Regions from separate parts of the Homo sapiens genome. Here all the other regions are linked to region 1. The links are contacts of gene promoters, found by promoter capture Hi-C in blood cells and fetal thymus (Javierre and others, 2016). All regions are on one chromosome and are shown on one strand. The core of a region is centred on a gene start or on the middle of the fragment in contact, and the rest is flanking DNA. Distances in the headings are between cores, read along the strand shown.

Region 1 (3,047 bases), core at 259-2,758:
TGTTTAAAAGCAATAATACACATGGCTAAACATTCAAACAACCGTGAAGTACACAGAAAAGTGAGTCTCTCCCACCCACTGGTTCCCCTGCTCTTGGGTAACCGTTGCATGTCTTTCAGGAAAACATGATCTCGCCCAAAGAGCCTTCCAAAGCAGTTCAAGAAACCTTTAAATCTCAGGCCACACTGAGCTGAGTATTTTACATGCATCGCTTAATCGGAGGTATACAAGGCAGTGTAGTATGTATGTGCGTACTTTTTACAGATGAAAAATACGAGCCCAGGGATCCTACATTTCTGAGCCTGGGTGTGTTTCTTTGGAGGCCAGATCCTGTTCTTTTTTGCTCCATGACTTTGTCTTGCCCCACTCTATATGAATTACAGGACAAACCATTAACTCTCCACTCTTATCCATTTCTCCAACTGCTGAAGGTGAAACAAACCTTTACTCATTCATGCACTCTACCAATATTTGTTAAACACCTGCTATGTGCCAAACCTTGTGCTAGGCACTGGGGAGAACATTGGCCTCTGGCCCAGTTCTTTCTTGAGCAGAGTTAATGGGACACAGTGGACCTTTAATAAGGTTGATATGTAGAAGTGACTGAATGAATGAATGGATGGTAAACTTGAGAAGTCTTGCCCACACTGAACTTACCACTTCTAATCCAGGGTAGAAGTTAGATATATTCTGGCTCATGCAGAAAGTTGGGTGTTTCCTTTTTCATTTTAACGTGGTACTTTGGGAAATAGCATGGATTCTGGCTGAAGACCAGAGGAATCCTCTGGAAGTACAAAATGTTCAGTTTGGTGCATTGTTGCATCCAGCCTTTTCCAACACACACACACACACACACACACACACACACACACACACACACACACACACACACTTAATTGAAGTGGAAAAAGAAAAAGGCTGTCAGGACAAATAAGGTTGTTATCTAGTGCCGTTTTGGTTTATAAAGGGAATGAAAAATAAGGGTGCGTGCGTGGTTATGAACCCTGGTTTTGCCACTTGTTAACTGCATGATCTTGGGTAAGTCAACCTCTCAGTGACTCCGTTTCCCTGATGATAAAATAGGTTCGATAATAGTACCCAATTCATAGGATGGTTGTGAAAATTAAATACCTTAATATGTAAAGCCCTTAGGATAGTGGCTTTGCATAGTATACACCATCCAATACTATTCTTATTCTTATTATAAATCTAGTAATTGTTACTACAGTGGTGACTTTCCTTGACCCATCTACGCCGATTCCCTCTCCGGGACTGCGCCCAAAGCTTCCAATTCCCGCCCACCCGGAGGATTCTGCGGTCGCTCCTCCTCTCGCCCCGCCTTTTGTGGATGGCCGTAGGCCCGCGGTTGCACGATGCATGCCGGGCCTTGTAGTCCGTTCGCGGAGTCCTGCCGCCGAAGGCCACGCGGGTGAACTGCATTTCCCAGCGCCCCACGCGGCGGCGGCCGTAAAGCGCGGCGGTCGAACGGCCGGTTCCGGCTGAATGTCAGTGCTGGGCTGTGGGCCGGGGAGGAAGGCGGCTCGCGGTTCCTCCACCGCCTCCGCCGCCGCATCCTCCGCTTGTGCTACCGCCGCGGGCGCTGGGCCGCTCTGCTGGTCCGGCATGAGACCGTGAGACGAGAGACGGGTCGGGGCCGCCGACATGTTTGGCCGCTCGCGGAGCTGGGTGGGCGGGGGCCATGGCAAGACTTCCCGCAACATCCACTCCTTGGACCACCTCAAGTGAGTGTGGGGGGCGTAGCGGGAGGCCTCGGGGCTGGACAGGGGGACGGGGCGCCGAGCTCCGGGTCGGGGCTCTAGGAGGCGTGAGAGCGGCGGCGAAGGGCGCCCGGGGAAGCCCGTGTGGTGGTTAAGAGCGAGGGCTCGGGAGTCAGGGCGCCTGGGTTCGAACCCTGACCCCGTCGCTCTTGGCTGTGTGACCTTGGACAAGTCGCTTAATTTCTCAGAGTCTCCGTATCCCCACCTGTAAAGCGAGAGGATGCGATTTCAGTTTATGGACACAGACTTTGTTCTTGACGGTGTCCACCAAGTTTCCTGGCGGGGTACTTCTTAAACTGAACAGCTTAGAGGGTCAAAGGCCTGGGTCCTGGAGTCGGGCAGATCTGGGTCCGAATCTATCTGTGTGAATGTAGGCCTCAGGTTCCCCACTTGTAAAAAGAGTAGAGTGACAGCACCTGCTTCCTGCTATTGTGTTGAGAGTTGGTTGGATAAGAGAATGAACGTTAAGCTCAGAACACGTACAATTGCTCATTAAACGGCATTAATTATTATAAAAGAACAGATTATTTTCCGAGGGGAGTCTAAGCTGGGGGCATGCACGCTGAGACCCAGGATTTTGGGGCGATTGGGGAGGATGATGAAAAATAGAGACCTCTGAGGAGGGAATGACTCTACAGCTCTGGGGGAGGACAGGTGGCAGATAGGGTCTTGGGACCAGGAGTGCAGAAATTAAGAGGCTGGCTTTGCAGCCACACCTGCGTTCAAATCCTGAAACCACCATTTACTGGCTGTGTGACCTTGGGCAAATTACTTCACCTCTCTGAGCCTCCAGATTCCCATTTGCAAATGGGGATCGTGAACATTGTAATGGAAATGGAAGGTGACTGACCCAGTAGGTACATAGTAGGTGGCCAGTAGTGGTAGCTGTGTTTATTATCAGCTCAGCGAGGCCTTCCCAGACCACCCTACCTAACGTGCTCCCCCCATCCCAGTTCCTATCCATCACATCTTTCTCTTGCTTTCATTGAGTGCTTCTCCACTCTCTGCGATTATTCTTTATTTTTTATTTATACTTATTTTCTGTCTTCTGTTAAACTGGCACTTCACGAGGGCACAGACTGCTTGGTTTGTTCACAGTTGTATTCCCAGCATCTAGGACTGCTCTCTGCTTACTTAAAGAGTGGAAAAATGAATGATTGAATTGGGGAGAGATGAAGAGCATGCAGGCCAGGACCCAGGATTTGGGGGCAGGTGTGGAGGATGATGAAAAATAGAGATCTGTATGAAGGGAAAGGCTTTAGGGAGGGA
Region 2 (3,058 bases), core at 5-2,504, 930 kb after region 1:
AAAACATGGTTAGCAAATTTCAGCTTTACACTTAAGAAAACTCAGTCAATTTCAAATAATTGAGATAAAACTTATACCCTGCTTGATTCTGCTTATCGCTGATAATTTTAGTCTGTTCAGATTCTGATGATTCTAAATATTTTCATTTAGTTGCTAGGTTGAGATTTAGCTTTAACCAGCAAGGATCATCCAACCTTTAAAGTTACTGATACAAAGAGTAAACTGAGTAACTTGTAGAAGTGGCACTTGCAACTGATACGGTTTTCATACTAGAGGCATGCAGCTCTATTTATAAATACTACCAGAGGAATTTTTGCCAGGTCTCAAACATGCTTTATTTGTTGTTAATTCCACTAATTTAACAAGTTAATGGAATTTTCTCTAGGGGTACAATTTCATTACGCTTTACTTATAAAAACTACAGTATGCTGTTCTTTTATTTTAAAACAACTTACTGTGTTCAAGAAATCATGTTACAATATAAATTGGCAAAAAAAAAAAAAATAAATAAATAACTAAAAGACCTAGTAAAGCAGTGTCACATTTGCATAAAGGGATTTAACTGCATGTATGCATTAACCATCAAAAGAAGGGGTCAAACTAATCCTTTCCTTTAATACAAACTTGAACGCTGTGAATGTCTCATTTATAGTGGGTAGGGAAAGAGTTTATAAAAGTCCAAGTAATAAAATGTATTCAATTACTTGGGAAAGTTAAAAAGCTAATGCAACAATGTTACATCCAGATAAAAAACATTATTCAAAAGCAATTCAAATACCGAAAAGGATTTCAAATTGAATATTTTATTAACATGGTAGTTGCCTTTGTAACATGTGCACACACACTCGCACACTCAGAATGATCTGCCTGGGGGAAAAATACTAAATATGCCTAAGGGGAAAATGAAAAATAAAAAAATTCCTGTAGGTTTTCATTATTGTAGGCAATTATGTCCACATCACTTACAAAGCTATTGCCAAATCTGTCCAAGGAAGCAGAGTTTGAAGTGAGGGCTAGGGACAGGAATCTTGGGAAAAATTCAACAGTGGCATAGCAGAGCTCTCAATATGAGAAAGCTGACATAATGTGGACTTTTGCTGTGAATTTCCTCTTTGCAAAATATGGGGAGAGGTTTATCAATGGGCAGAAAATAAGAGAAGGCGGTGTGAAGTAGGCTTCTGCAGTCAATTTTCCTCACAGTATTGTGCAGGGTCATCAAGAAAATGCTTAGTCTTTCTCTGGAACCAGTTTCAGAACTTTTCCAATTGCAATGGTCTTACCTAGAAATGAAATTTTAAAAAAATCTTTCAGTAGTTAACAGCAAGTCTATATAAGATATTAAAACTTATTATTTTAAATCACAAAAATATTTTTTACAATGTAAGTTACTAATTAACTAGCTTTACTGCCAAACCCATGATACTTCTATTTAGGTAGTCTTAATAAGAGGGTCTTATTTGGGGGGGCTGGTAAAGAGATGGTTCCCTGTATCAAAAACCTATCTCCCCCCGTACCCCCCAAACAATTCTCCTGCCTCATCCTCCCCAGTAGCTGAGATACAGATGCCTGCCACCACGCCCAGCTAATTTTTGTATTTTTAGTTGAGACGGGATTTCACCATGTTGGCCAGGCTGGTCTTGAACTCCTGACCTCAGGTGATCCACCCGCCTCAGCCTCCCAAAGTGCTGGGATTACAGGCATGAGCCACTGCATAAAGACAGAGTCTTACTCTGTCACCCAGGCTGGAGTGCAGTGGTGCGACTTCAGCTGACTGCAACCTCCTCCTTCTGGGTTCAAGTGATTCTCCTGCCTCAGCCTCCTGAGTAGCTGGGAGTATAGGTGCTTGCCACCATGCCCATTCTAATTTTTATATTTTTAGTAGAGGCAGGGTTTCACCATGTTGGCCAGGCTGGTCTTGAACTCTTGGCCTCAGGTGATCCGCCTGCCTCGGCCTCCCAAAGTGCTGGGATTACAGGGGTGAGCCACCACACTGGGCCAAAAAACCTCTTTGGATTAAAAATAAGAAAAGGGAATATCCGTATTTGTGGAATATCCACCCAGTGGAGTACTATTCAGTGATACAAAGGAATAAATAACATGTTACATGGTTGAACCTCAAAATCACACTAAGTAAAATAAACTAGACAAAGGACCACATAATTTATAATTCTATTTATGGAGTGTCTATAAAAGACAAATTGAAAAATGGTTGCCTGGGGTGGAGGTGGGAATAAGGGGTGATTATGAACAGGTGTAAGGTTTCTTTTTAGGTGTTCTAAATGTTCTAATATTAGTATATGGTGATGGTTGTACAATTCTGTAAACATACTAAAATTCATTGAATTACATACTTAAAACAGGTCAATTTCATATTATGGAAATTGTATCTCAATAAAGCTGCTAAAAAAAAAAATCCCAAAACCTATCCTTAAGTAACTGTGAAAAGGCACAGCAATCACCACTGACTACAGTGCAGTGAACACGTCCTTCTGGTAGTAATCCTGTGGACTGAAAGGATACAAAACCCATTGGGTCTTGTGGAAAACCTAAAAGCCAAGTTAGCTTTTTTTTTTTTTTTTTTTTTTTTTTTTTTAAAGCCAAGTTAGCTTTTAGGAAAAAATAATTCTAGGGTTAAGAATTCCTGCTACATTAATTGCTTTTCTTCTGTCTTCCTGATTTTATCAGGTTCTGAGTGGTAAACTAAAACTATCATTTTGTTATATTAATAAGATAAACCCAATAACCAGTTTTACTATCAACCAGAAGAGTTCTGGGCCTTTAAAGTAAAATAAACACTGTCTTTATACAATTTCATCCAATGTAAAGTTCAGGAACTGTATTCATCACCAGGGCTTAGCACAGTTCCTGACACTTTGTAGATACAAAGTAGTTTTTGCTAAATGGAATTGGAATGAACATGTGAAATGACTATTCTGTATTTCAATGGAACTATAAAGTTTTATGTAAAGTCTTCTATAGTCTTAAAATGGTTATCTAAGTTAGAAATATTAACAGCTGGGCCGGGCACGGTGGCTCACGCCTGTAATCCCAGCACTTT
Region 3 (2,901 bases), core at 28-2,527, 880 kb after region 1:
CTATAAGATAGAAGGCCACACGCCTCACAACGGGGACTTTCTTACCCTGACAATGTAAATTAATAGCTTATCTTCATAGGTAGGAGACAAGAAGAGACTATAAATTGCTGACCCACCCACGCTGAGACCCATGCGTATTTGATTTTTTTTTTTTTTTTTTTTGAGACGGAGTTTCGCTCTTTTTGCCCAGGCCGGAGTGCAATGGTGCAATCTCGGCTCACCGCGACCTCTGCCTCCCGGGTTCAAGCATTTCTCCTGGCTCAGCCTCCCAAGTAGCTGGGATTACAGGCGCCTGCCACCCCGTCTGGCGAATTTTTTGTATTTTTAGTAGAGACAGGTTTCACCACGTTGGCCTGGATTGTCTCGATCTCCTGACCTCGTGATCCACCCGCCTCGGCCTCCCAAAGTGCTGGGATTACAGGCGTGAGCCACTGCACCCGGCCGCATATTTGATTTCTATGTTTATCTACAGGTCAAGTACAGATTGCCCAAGTTCAAGAGAAAGACTTGATTGTTCTTCCTCTCTTTCCTTTTCACATGCAACACGTGGATTGAGTGAGTGCTGAAAGCCTCATTACAATGCTACCCTATCCTTCTCCATTTTTTCTTTTCACCTCTCCCCTCCTGCCCACTTTTTCCCTTTAAATATTGAAGCCCTTTAAATCCTCTTTGGAAAAAGTGCTGACTCCAGATCCTCTTGTGGCTTCTGTCTATTTCCTGGGCATGTCCTCAATGTTAGCTAAAATAAACCTCTACAGTGATTGAGACCTTCTGAGACTTCTGGTTTACAAGTGAAATTTCATGAAGCTATCTCAAGACATCCAAAAAGACTGCTTCTGAAAATGAATCCTCACGCTTGGGAGGCCGAGGCAGGTGGATCGCTTGAGCCCAGGAGTTCAAGACTAGCCTGGGGAACGTGGCAAAACCCTGTCTCTACAAAAAATAAATAAATAAATTAAATAAAATACAAAAAATTAGCCACGCATGGTGGCACGTGCCTGTAGTACCAGATACCCTGGGAGCTGAGGCTTCAGTAAGCCTTGATTGTGCCACTGCACTCCAGCCTGGGAGATAGAAAGGCCCCATCTCAATTCTAAAAAAAGAAGGCTGGGCACAGTGGCTCATGCCTGTAATCCCAGCACTTTGGGAGGCCAAGGCAAGTGGATTCCCTGAGGTCAGGGGTTCCAGACCAGTCTGGCCAACGTGATGAAACCCTGTCTCTACAAAAAATACTAAAATTAGCTGGGTGTGGTAGCAGAAGCCTGTAATCCCAGCTACTCAGGAGGCTGAGGCAGGAGAATCACTTCAACCCGGGAGGCAGAGATTGCAGTGAGCCAAGATCGCACCATTGCACTCCAGCCTGGGTGACAAGAATGAGACTTCGTCTCAAAAAAAAAATAAAAATAATAAAAAGAAGAAAATGGCTGGGTGCAGTGGCTCATGCCTGTAATCCCAGCACTTTGGGAGGCCAAGACAGGTGGATCACCTGAGGTCGGGAGTTCAAGACCAGCCTGACCAACATTGAGAAACCCCATTTCTACTAAAAATACAAAATTAGCTGGGCGTGGCGGCACATGCCTGTAATCCCAGCTACTTGGGAGGCTGAGGCAGGAGAATCGCTTGAACCCGGGAGGCAGAGGTTGTGGTGAGCCAAGATTGCACCATTGTACTCCAGCTTGGGCAACAAGAGCAAAACTCTGTCTCAAAAACAGAAGAAGAAGAAGAAACTGAAGTACAAGGCCAAAGGTACTTGAAGTAGGCTTAACTTCTTCCTGAAGCACCATTACTATTTGATGGTAAATCTATGTTTTTATACTTTAGGTACAAGTGATGAAATTCAAGGCCAGGCATAGTGACTCATGCTTGCAACCCCAGCACTTTGGGAGGCCGAGGCAGGAGGATCACTTGAGGTCAGGAGTTTGAGACCAGCTTGGCCAACATGGTGAAATCCATTCTCTACTAAAAATACAAAAATTAGGCCAGGTGCATTGGCTCACGCCTGTCATCTCAGCCCTTTGGGAGGCTGAGGCGGGCAGATTACTTGAGGTCAGGAGTTTGAGACCAGCCTGGCCAACATAGTGAAACCCCGTCGCTACTAAAAATATAAAAATTAGCTGGGTGTGGTGGCGCACACCTGTAATCCCAGCTACTCAGGAGGCGGAGGCAGCAAAATCACTTGAACCCAGGAAGCGGAGGTTGCAGTGAGCCAAGATCACGCCATTGCACTCCAGCCTGGGTGACAGAGTGAGACTCCATCTCAAAAAAACAAACAACAACAACAACAAAAACAAAAATTAGCCAGGCATGATGGCCCACATCTGTAGTTGCAGCTACTCAGAAGGCTTGAGGCAGGACAATCTCTTGAACCCCAGAGGCAGAGGTTGCAGTGAGCTGAGATCACACCACTGCACTCCAGCCTGGGCAACATGGCAAGACTCTATCTCAAAAAAAAAAAAATCCCGAAGAAGCAAACAAAAACAAGTGACAAGTGATGAAATCCAAGGTCAAAGATTAAGAACATTGACTTGAAGGAGAGGGGACAGTCACGAGAAGGAAATGTATTTTCTTTTCCACCAGCATGAGGACCCAGTAGGTACAAAGTTTACCAAGGGAGAAGCTTGGGTGGGGATAGTGATTGCCAAACGCTCCCCGCAGCTGTGGTTGCTCTTGCCTTGGGGACAGTTCACTCAAGGTCACTGGTTATTAGAGAACATCAATTGTGGATTGCAGAACTCCATAGCCACCAACATAACTCAAGTCCCGGTTGGGCTTTTCACTGAGAAATGGTTGTGTGGCATTTTATCAACACATCACAGGCCCTGTGGAAAAAGGCTTGGCTTCTAATTAATTGGATTAATAGCCAACTTCCAAATCAATTGTTTTTCTTAATGCACTGGCAAA
Region 4 (3,094 bases), core at 160-2,659, 800 kb after region 1:
AAAGGACTTCTGTATCAATTAAGCCATGCTGTCTCAGAACAAACATTAACCATTATTTCTAGACTTTAACAAACCGATGTAAATAAACTTCACCCCTGGAGGGGGAAACCTCTCTTCCTAATTTGAACCTAAATGTCACCTCGCAACACTCTACCTTGTAAAATACTTTGTATACTGTCCTTGTGGGAGACAAGAATAAAGTACAAGGTTAAGAATCTAGGAGGTCCTGACAATAAAGGATTCAAATTCCAGCTCAGCCCCTTATCACGTAGGTGTGATTTGGAGCAGGTTCTGAAACATCACGAAGGCTGGACTCCTTCATCTGTGCACTGGGAAAGATAACAGTATATTCAAACTTTAATGGGGATTGTAAGATTTAAATGACACCCATACTAGGCTCTCAATTATGTACTAAATGAATAAATGCTTCATGGAAACAGTGGTTCCCAAGCAGGCAATTTTGCTCCCAGGGGACATCTAACAATGTCTGAAGCCATTGTAGTTGTTACATCTTGTGGGGTGTGCTACTGGTATCTAGTGGGTAGAGGCCGGGGATGCTGCTAGACATCCTACAGTAGTCAGGGCAGCCCCCACAACACAGAATTATCTGACCCAAAATATCAACAGTGCCAAGACGGAGAAACCCTGCTGACAGTACCTGGCCTATGGAAAATGCTCACTGAGAGTTATTATAATTTATCTTTCCACTAAAATCCCCGATCTTTTGACACCTCTTTGACAACTGGCCACATATCGTGCTAAATAAACTCAAAAATGTTCCGAGGTGAAATCACAGATATCATAGTAGCAATACAGATCTTATAAACTGGAATCCCAAAAGACCCACTGTGGATTTGGGAGACCAGAAGTACACCTGAAATATACAGCAAATTTTGTATGTGTGTACATTCCTGAAAAGACACACATGAACTTTCATGTTCCTACCCCCTACACCCCAGCCTACTGTCAGGCCTTTTTATCAATTCCAGGGAAACACCAAGCTTGCCCAGCCTCAGAAACTCTGCATTTGCTGTTCGCTCTACCGTGGACACGCTCCCCCGGGATCTTCCCAGCGCTGGTCCCTTCTCCTTTTTGTATAAGCTTCAAATGTCACTTCCTTAGGAAGTCTTTCCCCACCGCCATCGTTTCTATGCCCTGCATAGCACTGAAGCTTTAAAAAATTATATTTACTTGTTCACTGTCCCATCCACTCAAGGGAGCAAAAAGTTCACCCGGACGAGCGTCCGGCACATAGTAGGTGCAGATAAATAATCGTTAGATCAGGCCGGGTGCGGGGCTCTCGCCTGTAATCCCAGCACTTTGGGAGGCCGAGACGGGTGGATCACGTGAGGTCAGGAGTTCGAGACCAGCCTGGCCAACGTGGTGAAACTCTGTCTCTACTAAAAATACAAAAATTAGCCAGGCGTGGTGGCGCGCGCCTGTAATCCGAGCTACTCAGGAGCTGAGGCAGAAGAACCCCTTGAACCCGGGAGGCGGAGGTTTCAGTGAGCCGAGATCGCGCCACTGCACTCCTGCCTGGGACACAATGCGTGACTCCGTCTCAAAATAAAAATAATCGTTAGATCAATGAGTGCGGGAATTCTAAAAGGGGTCTGGAACTCTCGCAAGGTTGTGGATCACTACACCTGAAGCTTAAGGGGAATGAAATCGGTGAGAAATGAGGGTCCTACAGCCCGGGCCGAAGTGACAGGTCCACCCCTAGTGACTCCAACAGGTGAGGAGCACCCCCGACCCGCCTCCCTCGGCACTAAAGCGGGACGATAGGGCGCAGGGCTCCACCCGGAAGCCTCGCCATAATGTCCGCGGGCGGGCCGGGGCGAGGAGAAGGTGGGAAGCCGTGGCCGCAGGTTCCGGGAGGGGTCAGCCGTCCTGGGCAAGGTCAGGCCCGACTTCCCCGGCTGAGGCCGCTGCGACCCGGCCCTGCAGGCTCCAGGCGGCAGAGCAAGGGGAGCGCCCTAGCGGGGCCCCAGGGTCCGGGCCGCCTCACCTGCAGGTGAACTTGAGGGCGAGGAGCAGCGCGCAGCCGAGCGCCACGGCCCCGCAGAGCAGCTCCGGCCGCTGGCGCGCCATGAGGAAGGCGCCACGCAGCCCGCGACGGAGCCGGCCCGCCGAGGACGCTGTGGCCAGGGTCGGGCTCGAGCTGAGGCAGTCTGAGCCCGCGGGGCCGCCGCCGCCCCCTCCCTCGTCCTCGGCGTCCTCGCTGCTGCTGCTGCCGCCGCCGCGGCCTCCGCATTCCGACATTACATGCTCCCAGTCGCCGGCTTTATACCGCCGCCGCCGCCTCGGGCCCGAAGGCCCGGCCCGGCCCGTTGCTCCCCAATCCCGCAGCTCGCCGCACCCGCTAACCCGGACGCTCCACGTCAGCCGCGCCGCCGCCGCGGGGTCCGCCCCACCTCACACCCCAGAGCACGCAGCTCCGCCCACCGCTCACGGAGTCCGGGCGGGCACCGACACCGCCCAAATCCCCGCCCCCAACGGGCCACGCCCTGCACCCTACGTAAATGCACGGAAGCCTTCCCCGCCCGCAGCCCAGTCTTGGCCCCACCGGTCACGACCCCGCTCACGGAGTCTGCGCAGGCGCCGTCGCGGGGCGTGGAGAAGCTGCTCCCTTGGGATAAGGCCCGCGGGGAATACTTGGAACCTTGACACCGCTGTAGTCTGCTCTCGCCGCGCTGGGTTTTAGGAGCCGTAACGACAATAATCGTGTCCACCATTCTCACTACAGGCCCCGAAGCACGTAGGTGCCGTTTTTTATCCCAACTTAACTGAAGAAAAAAAAAACACGGCCGGGCGCGGTGGCTCAAGCCTGTAATCCCAGCACGTTGGGAGGCCAAGGCGGGCAGATTACATGAGACCAGGCGTTCAAGACCAGCCTGGCCAACATGGTGAAACCTCGTCTCTACTAAAAATACAAATATATTAGCCGGGCGTGGTGGCGGGCGCCTGTAATCCTAGCTGCTTGGGAGGCTGAGGCAGAGAATTGCTTGAACCCTGGAGGCGGAGGTTGCAGTGAGTGGAGATGGCGCCACTGCACTCCCGTCTGGGGGAGAGAGAGAGAGAGACTCTTGTCTCA
Region 5 (3,312 bases), core at 285-2,784, 950 kb after region 1:
TTAAATGTAGGCATTACAATAATCGTAACTTACATAATGCACCTTAAATCTTGAGAGTGAAAGAGTTTCATATTACTGTATTAATATGGTCAGAAATTTTCTTACCAATAGGTTCTGAAAGTTCCATGCTAACAGCTGAATTTGAACCTAGACAAGAGATTGAAATATAATATATATTTACCAAACAGTATCTAGCTTTACACACCATATAGACAACCTAATGTTTTCTCAAGTAGACTTTCAAAGAGTACATCATTACCTTCACACAATGACTGTTCCTCTTGAGAGGATTCCACAGGTGCTGTTTAACAGAAAGAAGTTCTATTAAAAATTGATACTTATCCATCCATTTCACTTATCTTTTAATATGCAGTAAAAACAGAAGTTCAATAACACGACACAAGCCTCAATCAATAACCCCAGATCAATGGCAGCTAACTCAGGCCTTCAAGTTAGAAGTCTCTGCTTAACCTACTTTTCAAAATTCTACTAATTACAGCCAATTTTGAAACATTTTCAGTAGTTTCAATGTATTCATAAAAACATGCTTATTCTTTTGATTTGCTTTATAAACCTTTTCTTCACAGATACTGTCAAAGTAATTTGCAGCTCAGCACAGATCAAATTAGAGATGTGCTCAACAAATACACATCTACTTCCCGTGATTCTCTCTAGGTAACCCAGCCCAAGAAAGCTGTGATTAGCCCTTTTTTTTTTTTTTTTTTTTTGAGACTGAGTTTCACTCTTGTTGCCCAGGCTGGAGTTGGAGTGCAATGGCACGATCTTGGCTTACCGCAACCTCCATCTCCCCGGTTCAAGCGATTCTCCTGCCTCAGCCTCCTGAGTACCTGGGATCACAGGTGCATGCCACCATGCCCGGCTAATTTTGTATTTTTAGTAGAGATGGGGTTTCGCCACGTTGGTCAGGCTGGTTTTGAACTACGACCTCAGGTGTTCTGCCCACCTCGGCCTCCCAAAGTGCTGGGATTACAGGCTTGAGCCACCGCATCCAGCCTGTGATTAGCCCTTTTTAATATTCCATACTCATGTTATCAAAATCCCTGAATAAATTAGATACCTATAAGATAAATGACATGTGTATAAAGTCCTGAAACATATATAAGCCATTAAAAATATCTGCAGAAAAGGTGATTCCAATGATGCCAGTTTTTTCCTATACTAGAACTCTAAAACCAAGCAACAATCCAGTTTCCAGTTGCCACACTGCAAATTTACTTATGACATTACTGGAAGAGATGTAGGAGAAATACATACTAATAACCAAATATCTAAGTCTGCTTTTTGGATTTTAGTTTGTCAGATACAGACAAACCTAAATTATACTCCAATATGAACGTGCCCCTGCTTTAAAGAATCTCCACGACAGAAAACGATACTAAAGAATTAAATCATATGAATCATGCACAGCAAGTATGAAAAAATAATGAATTTGTAACCTGTAAAATCATTGCCCGGAAAGGATCAATACCTGTAAGAGTCAAGAGAAAGTGTTTTGGGCCCAACCTTCAATAGCATCAAATGTTGAGTAAAGTAATTTCCTGTCCCTGATAGGTAAAGGACAACCAAATTGTTTTCTTTTTTTTTTTAAGTGACAGGCTCAGACTGTCACTTAGGAAGATCTTTTTCTTGCAGCTTAAACTACATGAACTAGAGTGGGCAAGACCCCACAGGCAGGAAGACCCACATCACCACTGCAAGAAAGCATGCCATGGAGACAACCAAGCAATACAACTAGGAGGGGATGGGGGCTACACCTGACAGGAGTTGGGAGAAAGGGAGAGTAAAAGGTCTAAGATGACCCCAAGCTGTGGGATGAGCAGGACATTAACAAACAGGGGGGAAACGCATTTGAACCTGGTTTGGAAGGAGGCAGAAACTGTACTTCAACACAATACAGATTAACTTTTTTTTGCTTTTCCATTTTCAAGAAAAGTTTAAGGATAAGGTAAGGAAAAATTACTCAGTTTTCAGAGGAAGCCAGGTAGTACTGAGAGTATCAAGTTCACAGGCCACCCTAAGAAGGAGGTGACTGCATGGGGTACTTCTCAGAGCCTGGAACTGAGCTGACTCCTAGGTTTAACTCCTGGCTTATTACAAGCTGTGCCTGCACTTATTCCACTGAAATTGTGGAAATGATATACCATCTACCTGAGAGGATTGTTGAGGAGTTTATGGGAGGAAATGGGAGAATAATTTGTTTAGTGTCAGTTAAAGAACTCCTGGCGTATTCAACAAATGTGTCTCCATCTGCTATGTAACTACTCCAACTCAATCCTATCAATATGTATTGAGTATCAGCCAGGCACGGTGGCTCACACCTGTAATCCCAACACTTTGGGAGGCGGAAGCGGGGGGATCATTTGAGTTCGGGAGTTCAAGACCAACCCGGCCAACATGGCAAAACCCTGTCTCTACTGAAAATACAAAACAATTAGCTGGGTGTGGCATACACCTGTAATCCCAGCTACTCGGGAGGCCAAGGCAGGAGAATCGCTTGAACCCGGGAGGTGGAGGTTGCAGTGAGCCAAGATCACGTCACTGCACTCCAGCTTGGACAAGAATGAAACTCCGTCTCAAAAAAAAAAAAATTAATAAAAATGAATACATATATATATGTATTGAGTATCTATTATGGGCCAGACAAGGATAAAAGTACTCACAAATCCATATTGTGTAGGGAGTGGGGGATGGAGGGGGTAGCAATTTGCTTTAACTAATTTTTATTGAGCCCTAAGTGCCGACTGCTAGCTCATTCCCACCAAAAGCCTTAGGAAACAGATCCTGTAATCACTACCATCTAACATACAGGCACATCAGAATCAACTGCAGGCATTTCCAAGTTATGCAAGTGCCATCTTCCCCTTCCTCAGATAGTCCCTGCTGAAAATCAGTGTACAAGTAAACTAAGCTCTGACGGACACACAGTTATGATGTACTGCGTATCTTAAGGCAGGAAAATGACGGGTGTGGTGGGCTTCCTCACCACTCTCAAGTGTATCACTAACTGTAACAGCTTTTCAAAACAAAACAGTACTTACACCTGACCACTTAGTTCCTGGCACCAACTATTAGATTTACAATACAGATGGCTCCTCAACTTACAATGGATTGTAAGTTGCAAATGGGTTGGGCATGGTGGCTCACACCTGTAGTCCTAAACCTCTGGGAGTCCAAGGTGGGAGGATGGCAAGAGTTTGAGACCAGCCTGGGCAACATGGCAAAACCCCACCTGTACCAAAAAAAGAAAAACAAAAAACAAAAAACAAAAAACTGTCGGGAATGGCGGCATGC
Region 6 (3,097 bases), core at 57-2,556, 980 kb after region 1:
ATGATCACTTTCTCATAGGTTAGTTCTTCACATCTAATTGAATTAGCAGAGTTTCCTTCTGCCTGGTACTTTTTCTAGGGACAAAGGCAGAAACTGCTCAGACTGCTGCTTAGAAAAGCAGTTGATGTCATTAATTTCCTTGTCTCTGAATAGGATAATTATGGATATTCAGGAAAAAATCCACTCCATTGGTTTTCCAAAGCTTTGACCTGCCAAACAGAGCTCCAGCGGAAAAGGGAAAAGTCTTTCTTGTTAGTTGTGCTAAGTTGTGTGTAAGTTGTGCGACTTGAGGGCAGGGTCTTACCTTAATCTTCTTTACATTTCCACTGCCTAGTGTAATGCCCGGTGTATAAAAGGTGCTTAATCAATTTAGCTGGGATGATACTGTCCTTTGATACTCATTTAAGACTGCTGACACATAGGGCTAATAATTTTATTTATTTATTTATTTTTTAAATAACTTGAGACTCTTGAGACAGAGTCTCGCTCTGTCGCCCAGGCTAGAGTGCAGTGGTATGATCTCAGCTCACTGCAACTTCCACCTCCCAGGTTCAAGCGATTCTCCCACCTCAGCCTCCTGAGTAGCTGGGATTACAGGTGTGCACCACCACGCCCAGCTAATTTTTGTATTTTTAACAGAGACGGGGTTTCACCATGTTGGCCAGGATGGTCTCAATTTCTTGACCTTGTGATCTGCCCTCCTTGGCCTCCCAAACTGTTGGGATTACAGGCGTGAGCCACCACGCCTGGCCTGTATTTTTTTTTAGTAGAGACAGGGTTTCACCTTGTTGGCCAGGCTGGTTTCAAACTCCTGATCTCAAGTGATCTGCCTGCCTTGGGCTCCTAAAGTGCTAGGATTACAGATGTGAGCCACCGCACTTAGCTATTTTAATTTAATTTAATTTTATTTTTTGAGATGGAGTCTTGCTCTGTTGCCCAGGCTGGAGTGCAGTGGAGCAATCTTCACGCACTGCAACCTCTACCTCCCAAGTTCAAGCAATTCTCCTGCCTCAGCCTCCTGAGTAGCTGGGATTATAGGTGCCCGCCACCCCCCCTCCCCAACCCCCTGGTAATTTTTCTATTTTTAGTAGAGACAGGGTTTCACCATATTGCCCAGGCTGATCTGGAACTACTGACCTCAAGTGATCCTCCTGCCTCAGCCTCCCAACGTGCTAGGATTACAGGCATGAGCCACCACACCCCACCCCAGGACTAATAATTTAGAAAACTTAGGAAAAATCAGAGTTTTTCCTACTCTCACACACAAGTCACCGCTCAACACAGAGTACAGTCCTCTCTGGGTAGAGGAAGGGGATTAGTTCCAGGAGCCCTTCAGATACAAAAATCCAACCATACTAAAATCCCACAATCTATACTGTGTGTATGAAAGGTCAGCCCTCCCTACACTTGAGTTCCTGCATCCTGAGAATCCCGTCTTTTTGATCCTCATTTGATTGAAAAAAAAAATCCATGTGTAAGTGGGACCCTCGCAGTTCAGGCTCACATTGTTTAAGGGCCAGTTGTACTCCACCAGTAAGTGAGGGAGTTTCTACCCACCACCAACCAATTCTTCAACAGACACCAACAGGATAAGCAATCATTTCACTCAATTCTGACATTAACCAGAGTTAGGACAGATCCCACAAGTTAAGGGATCAGTCCCACAAGACTGCCCCCACTTCCAATGCCAATAACAGGTTCCACATTGTGACCTGTGCTTCTGACCAACTGGCTATGAATTGGGGGTTCCCATGACCCCCTCCATGGGTTCAGGGAATTTGCCAGAGTGGCTCACAGAACTCAAGGAAACAGGGCAAACACGGTGGCTCATGCCTGTAATCCCAGCACTTTGGGAGGCCGAGGCAGGCGAATCACCTGAGGTCAGGAGTTTGAGACCAGCCTGGCCAACATGGTGAAACCCTGTCTCTACCAAAAAAATACAAAAATTAGCCGGTTGTGGTGGTGGGTGCCTGTATTCCCAGCTACTCAGGAAGCTGAAGGCAGGAGAATCGCTCGAACATGGGAGGCAGAGGTTGTAGTGAGCCAAGTGCTCCACCACACTCTAGCCTGGGCAACAGAGCAAGACTCCGTCTCAAAAAAAAGAACTCAAGGAAACACTTTACTTACAGTTACCCATAAAGGACATTACAAAGGATACAGAGGAACAGCCACGTGGAAGAGATGCACAGGGCTGGGAAGGGGCATACAGTTCCTATTCTGTCTCCAGGTGTGCCATCCTCAAGGGTCCTCCACGTGTTCAGCAACCCAGAAGCTCTCTGAACCCTGTCCTTCTGGGTTTCTATGGAGGCTTCCCTACATAGCCATGACTGATTGTATCATTGCCCGTTGCTGATTAACTCAACCTTCAGCCCCTCTGCCCACCGAGAGGTTGGATGTGGGGCTAAAAGTTCCAAGCTTCTAATCATGACTTGGCCTTTCTGGTGACCAGTCGTCTTCTAGGAGCCCATCAAGAGTTGCATCATTAGGCAGGGTGCGGTGGCTGATGCCCAGCACTTTGGGAGGCCGAGGCAGGCAGATCACCTGAGGTCAGGAGTTCGAGAACAGCCTGGTCAACATGGCAAAACCCTGTCTCTACTAAAAATACAAAAATTAGCTGGGCGTGGTGGCACACGCCTGTAATCCCAGCTACTTGGAAGGCTGAGGCAGGAGAATCGCTTGAACCTGGGAGATGGAGTTTGCAGTAAGTTGACATCACCCCACAGCGCTCCAGCCTGAGTAACAGAGTGAGATTTCGTGTCAAAAAAAAAAAAAAAAAAAAAAAAAAACAGAAACAAAAACCAAAACAAAACATATACAAAAGAAACAAAATACATGTAGGCCAGATGCTATTACCTGCTGAAGCCCTCCCTGTTCAAAATGCGGATGAGGAAAGCTTGGAGATGTGTTAAAGATATAATAGCCAGCTGGGCGCTGTGGCTCATGCCTGTAATCCCAGCGCTTTGGAAGGTTGAGGAGAGGGGATCACCTGAGGTCGGGAGTTCGAGACCAGCCTGGCCAACATGGTGAAACCCCGTCTCTCCTAAAAGTACAAAAATTAGGCCGGGCACAGTGGCTCTCACCTGTAATCCCAGCACTT
Region 7 (2,873 bases), core at 299-2,798, 900 kb after region 1:
CAAATAGTGCCTACTGTATGAGACAGCACAGATGCAGGCCATTTCCATCACAGTAGAAAGTGCTATCAGACAACATTGTTCTAGAGAACTGAACTTTTTTTTTTTTTCATTTAAAGACAGTCTTGCTCTGTCATTCAGACTGGAGAACAGTGACAAGAACATGGCTCACTGCAGTCTTGACCTTCTAGGCTCAAGTGATCCTCCTGCCACAGCCTCCTGTGTAGCTGGGAGCACAGGGATGCACCACCACACCTGACTAATGTTCTTGATTTTTCTGTAATTGGCTGGGGGAGAGGGTCTCATTATGTTGCCCAAGCTGGTCTTGCACTCCTGGGCTCAAGCGATCCTCCTGCCTAGGCCTCCCAAAGTGCTGGGATTACAGGCATAAGCCACTGCACCTGACCCGAGAATTGATCACTTCTGAGGAATAGATTTTAGTTTTAAAAAAGGATCTGGAGCCATTAACAAAATCTTTTTAAAAAGGCCAGGTGCAGTGGCTCACGCCTGTAATCCCAGCACTTTGGGAGGCCAAGGCGGGCGGATCATGAGGTCAGGAGATCGAGATCATCCTGGCTAACTCGGTGAAACCCTGTCTCTACTAAAAATACAAAAAGAAATTAGCCGGGCGTGGTGGCAGGCGCCTGTAGTCCCAGCTACTCGGGAGGCTGAGGCAGGAGAATGGCGTGAACCCAGGAGGCGGAGCTTGCAGTGAGTCGAGATGGTGCCACTGCACTCCAGCCTGGCAGACAGAGTAAGACTCCATCTCAAAAAAAAAAAACAAAAACAAAAAACAAAACAAAACGAATAAGTATATATAAAATCATTGTCAAATACAAGATTAAAAGAGGCACACATGAATGCCTTTTACCTACCTGCAAGAACCACTTTTAGAAATGTTTAAGACTGTTCCACCTATACAGTCATTGATCTCTCTTGATAAATTCTTGGACAGAAGGTTTACAGATACTGGAACTCTACAAAATAAACACACAGGCATTCAGAACACAATGCATACACACCTAGAAGCTTCATGCTGCTAAAGTCCAGTCATTACTAAGAAACTTACTTCTTTCTTTGATAGAAATGTCTCCCAATGAGTGAGGGTAAGAGCCGCCTAATTCTGGCATCAGTAAGGAAGAAATCAAAACTGCTCAGAAGGCGGAGCTTGGCTTCATAGGATTTATATTCCTTCTTTAGAGTTTGGAGGGAGATAATCTAGGAAGTATAGAGAAGAATAAAAACAAGAAGTTAGGAATCTAAACAAGGAGAAGAAATACTTAGGCAACAATTTGGATTTGGATTTAAAAATGTCCTAGAGCCATGCCTCTATACTTTAATGAACACTTGAGGGCCTAAAATGTGCCAGGCACTACGCTACATGCTGGGAACACTGAGACAAATGAGAAAAGACCCCAGCTAAAGCAACTTAGATCTAGGTGGGCAACATATATATATTATTATACATATGTTGCTGTATGTGCTTACGCCTGTAATACTAGCCCTTTGGGAGGCCGAGGTGGGTGGATCACCTGAGCTCAGGAATTCAAGACCAGCCTGGCCAACATGGTGAAACCTCGTCTCTATAAAAATATAAAAATTAGCCGGGCATGATGGCAGGTGCCTGTAATCCCAGCTATTCGGTAGGCTGAGGTGGGAGAATAGCTTGAACCTGGGAGGTGGAGGTTGCAGTGAGCCGAGGTCCTGCCATTGAATTCCAGCCTGGGCGACAGAGCGAGACTCCAAACAAACAAAAAAACTTAGATACCTTAGATCCAGAGGGTAATAAAGACAAGTACACCAACTACAAAACAGCAAATCAGAGAAAAACAAGATGCTGTGGAAGTACAGAGGAATGACACGAGCCACCTCTTTTATAATTTGCAAGATATAAAAGCTACTGATGTACACGCCACCACAAATTAAATTAAAAAGAGAAAAGTAGAAGAAAAATACTAGGAAATATAGCAATGTATTTGTGATACCATTTCGCCTGAATTAAATCCTCTAAATAACTTGAAAATATTAACCAGGCTTCCTACCTGAGAAACGGTTTTAATTCCATGCTTGTTTAAAAGCTTTCTATAAAACTGTTCTGTCTTTTCAGGAGTTGAATTGGGTTCATCCTTCGTAAATAAACAGATATCTTCTGAATCTGATCGAATACTATGAGGCAAGGTCCTACAAAATACGTGAAAAGAAACCGAGGAAAGCATTATTACACACATTATGCATGTTTGTATCACACAGAATACGCGATAAACTTAGTGTTATTTAAATAACTTTTAGTCATGCTAGTTAAGCAAATAATGCACCAAGAACAACACTTAAAAATACATTTCATGGCCGGTAGTAGTGGCTCAAGCCTGTAATCCCACACTTTAGGGAGGCCAAGGCAGATGGATCACCTGAGGTCAGGAGTTCAAGACCAGCCTGGCCAACATGGTGAAACCCTGTTTCTACTAAAATTATAAAAAATTAGCCAGGCACGGTGGTAGGTGCCTGTAATCCCAGCTACTTGAGAGTCTGAGGCAGGATAATCGCTTCAACCCGGAAGGTGGAGGTTGCAGTGAGCCAAGATCGCACCACTGGACTCCAGCCTGGGTAACAAGAGGCAAACTCCGTCTCAAAACACAAAAACAAAAAACAAAACTCACTTTCAATGGCAAGTAAATCACAAAAACACACAGGCCCAAATATCAATTAACACTTGGGATACAACAAGAATTAAAATATACTTAAAGACTTCCAAATGCTTGCATATATAATTATTATACATATGTTGCTGTATGTGCACACGTACTGTAATGCGCTATAAAAACCTAGCTTAATCAGGACAAGCCTGGTTCAGAATTTTACCTTCTTTAAAACTCTTA

What was found. Contacts are between HindIII fragments. The CHiCAGO score rates a contact against its expected background, and 5 or more counts as called.
Region 2: a contact is called between a fragment that was not itself captured here and the fragment with the promoter of CLEC16A in region 1, in 2 of 17 cell types (naive CD4 T cells and total CD4 T cells). The highest score is 6.0, in naive CD4 T cells.
Region 3: a contact is called between a fragment that was not itself captured here and the fragment with the promoter of CLEC16A in region 1, in 4 of 17 cell types (naive CD8 T cells, activated CD4 T cells, naive CD4 T cells and 1 more). The highest score is 6.9, in naive CD8 T cells.
Region 4: a fragment that was not itself captured here is called in contact with the fragment with the promoter of CLEC16A in region 1 in 4 of 17 cell types (total CD8 T cells, fetal thymus, naive CD8 T cells and 1 more); the score reaches 8.1 in total CD8 T cells.
Region 5: a fragment that was not itself captured here is called in contact with the fragment with the promoter of CLEC16A in region 1 in 3 of 17 cell types (naive CD4 T cells, naive CD8 T cells and neutrophils); the score reaches 6.9 in naive CD4 T cells.
Region 6: a fragment that was not itself captured here is called in contact with the fragment with the promoter of CLEC16A in region 1 in 1 of 17 cell types (neutrophils); the score reaches 5.3 in neutrophils.
Region 7: a contact is called between a fragment that was not itself captured here and the fragment with the promoter of CLEC16A in region 1, in 9 of 17 cell types (naive CD4 T cells, naive CD8 T cells, activated CD4 T cells and 6 more). The highest score is 11.0, in naive CD4 T cells.

The regions. Positions count from the first base shown.
Region 1 is chr16:10,943,056-10,946,102 of GRCh38, forward strand. CLEC16A (C-type lectin domain containing 16A) reads left to right here and starts at 1,509. Exons shown (of 24, transcript NM_015226.3): 1 at 1,509-1,742. The coding sequence starts at 1,663. RefSeq lists enhancers at 1,122-1,301, 1,522-1,581. The HindIII fragment of the contact is 6,288 bases long and covers 1,283-3,047 here.
Region 2 is chr16:11,871,892-11,874,949 of GRCh38, forward strand. GSPT1 (G1 to S phase transition 1) reads right to left here. Exons shown (of 15, transcript NM_002094.4): 15 at 1-1,280. The coding sequence ends at 1,228. Among named protein-coding and RNA genes, the nearest start is that of RSL1D1, 22 kb to the left of the region's middle. The HindIII fragment of the contact is 9,746 bases long and covers 1-3,058 here.
Region 3 is chr16:11,821,921-11,824,821 of GRCh38, forward strand. The region is part of intron 1 of BCAR4 (breast cancer anti-estrogen resistance 4); the gene reads right to left. Among named protein-coding and RNA genes, the nearest start is that of BCAR4, 5.5 kb to the right of the region's middle. RefSeq lists enhancers at 1-227, 228-728. The HindIII fragment of the contact is 2,676 bases long and covers 1-2,615 here.
Region 4 is chr16:11,740,469-11,743,562 of GRCh38, forward strand. TXNDC11 (thioredoxin domain containing 11) reads right to left here and starts at 2,389. Exons shown (of 12, transcript NM_015914.7): 1 at 2,009-2,389. The coding sequence starts at 2,262. TXNDC11-AS1 (TXNDC11 antisense RNA 1) reads left to right here and starts at 2,546. Exons shown (of 1, transcript NR_186412.1): 1 at 2,546-3,094. RefSeq lists silencers at 1,837-2,506, 2,369-2,891. The HindIII fragment of the contact is 481 bases long and covers 1,170-1,650 here.
Region 5 is chr16:11,897,735-11,901,046 of GRCh38, forward strand. It overlaps GSPT1 (G1 to S phase transition 1), which reads right to left. Exons shown (of 15, transcript NM_002094.4): 2 at 260-301; 3 at 106-147. Among named protein-coding and RNA genes, the nearest start is that of GSPT1, 17 kb to the right of the region's middle. The HindIII fragment of the contact is 4,482 bases long and covers 1-3,312 here.
Region 6 is chr16:11,918,659-11,921,755 of GRCh38, forward strand. No RefSeq gene overlaps it. Among named protein-coding and RNA genes, the nearest start is that of GSPT1, 4.3 kb to the left of the region's middle. The HindIII fragment of the contact is 2,213 bases long and covers 201-2,413 here.
Region 7 is chr16:11,845,629-11,848,501 of GRCh38, forward strand. It overlaps RSL1D1 (ribosomal L1 domain containing 1), which reads right to left. Exons shown (of 9, transcript NM_015659.3): 3 at 2,040-2,178; 4 at 1,067-1,215; 5 at 873-974. Among named protein-coding and RNA genes, the nearest start is that of RSL1D1, 4.5 kb to the right of the region's middle. The HindIII fragment of the contact is 1,049 bases long and covers 1,025-2,073 here.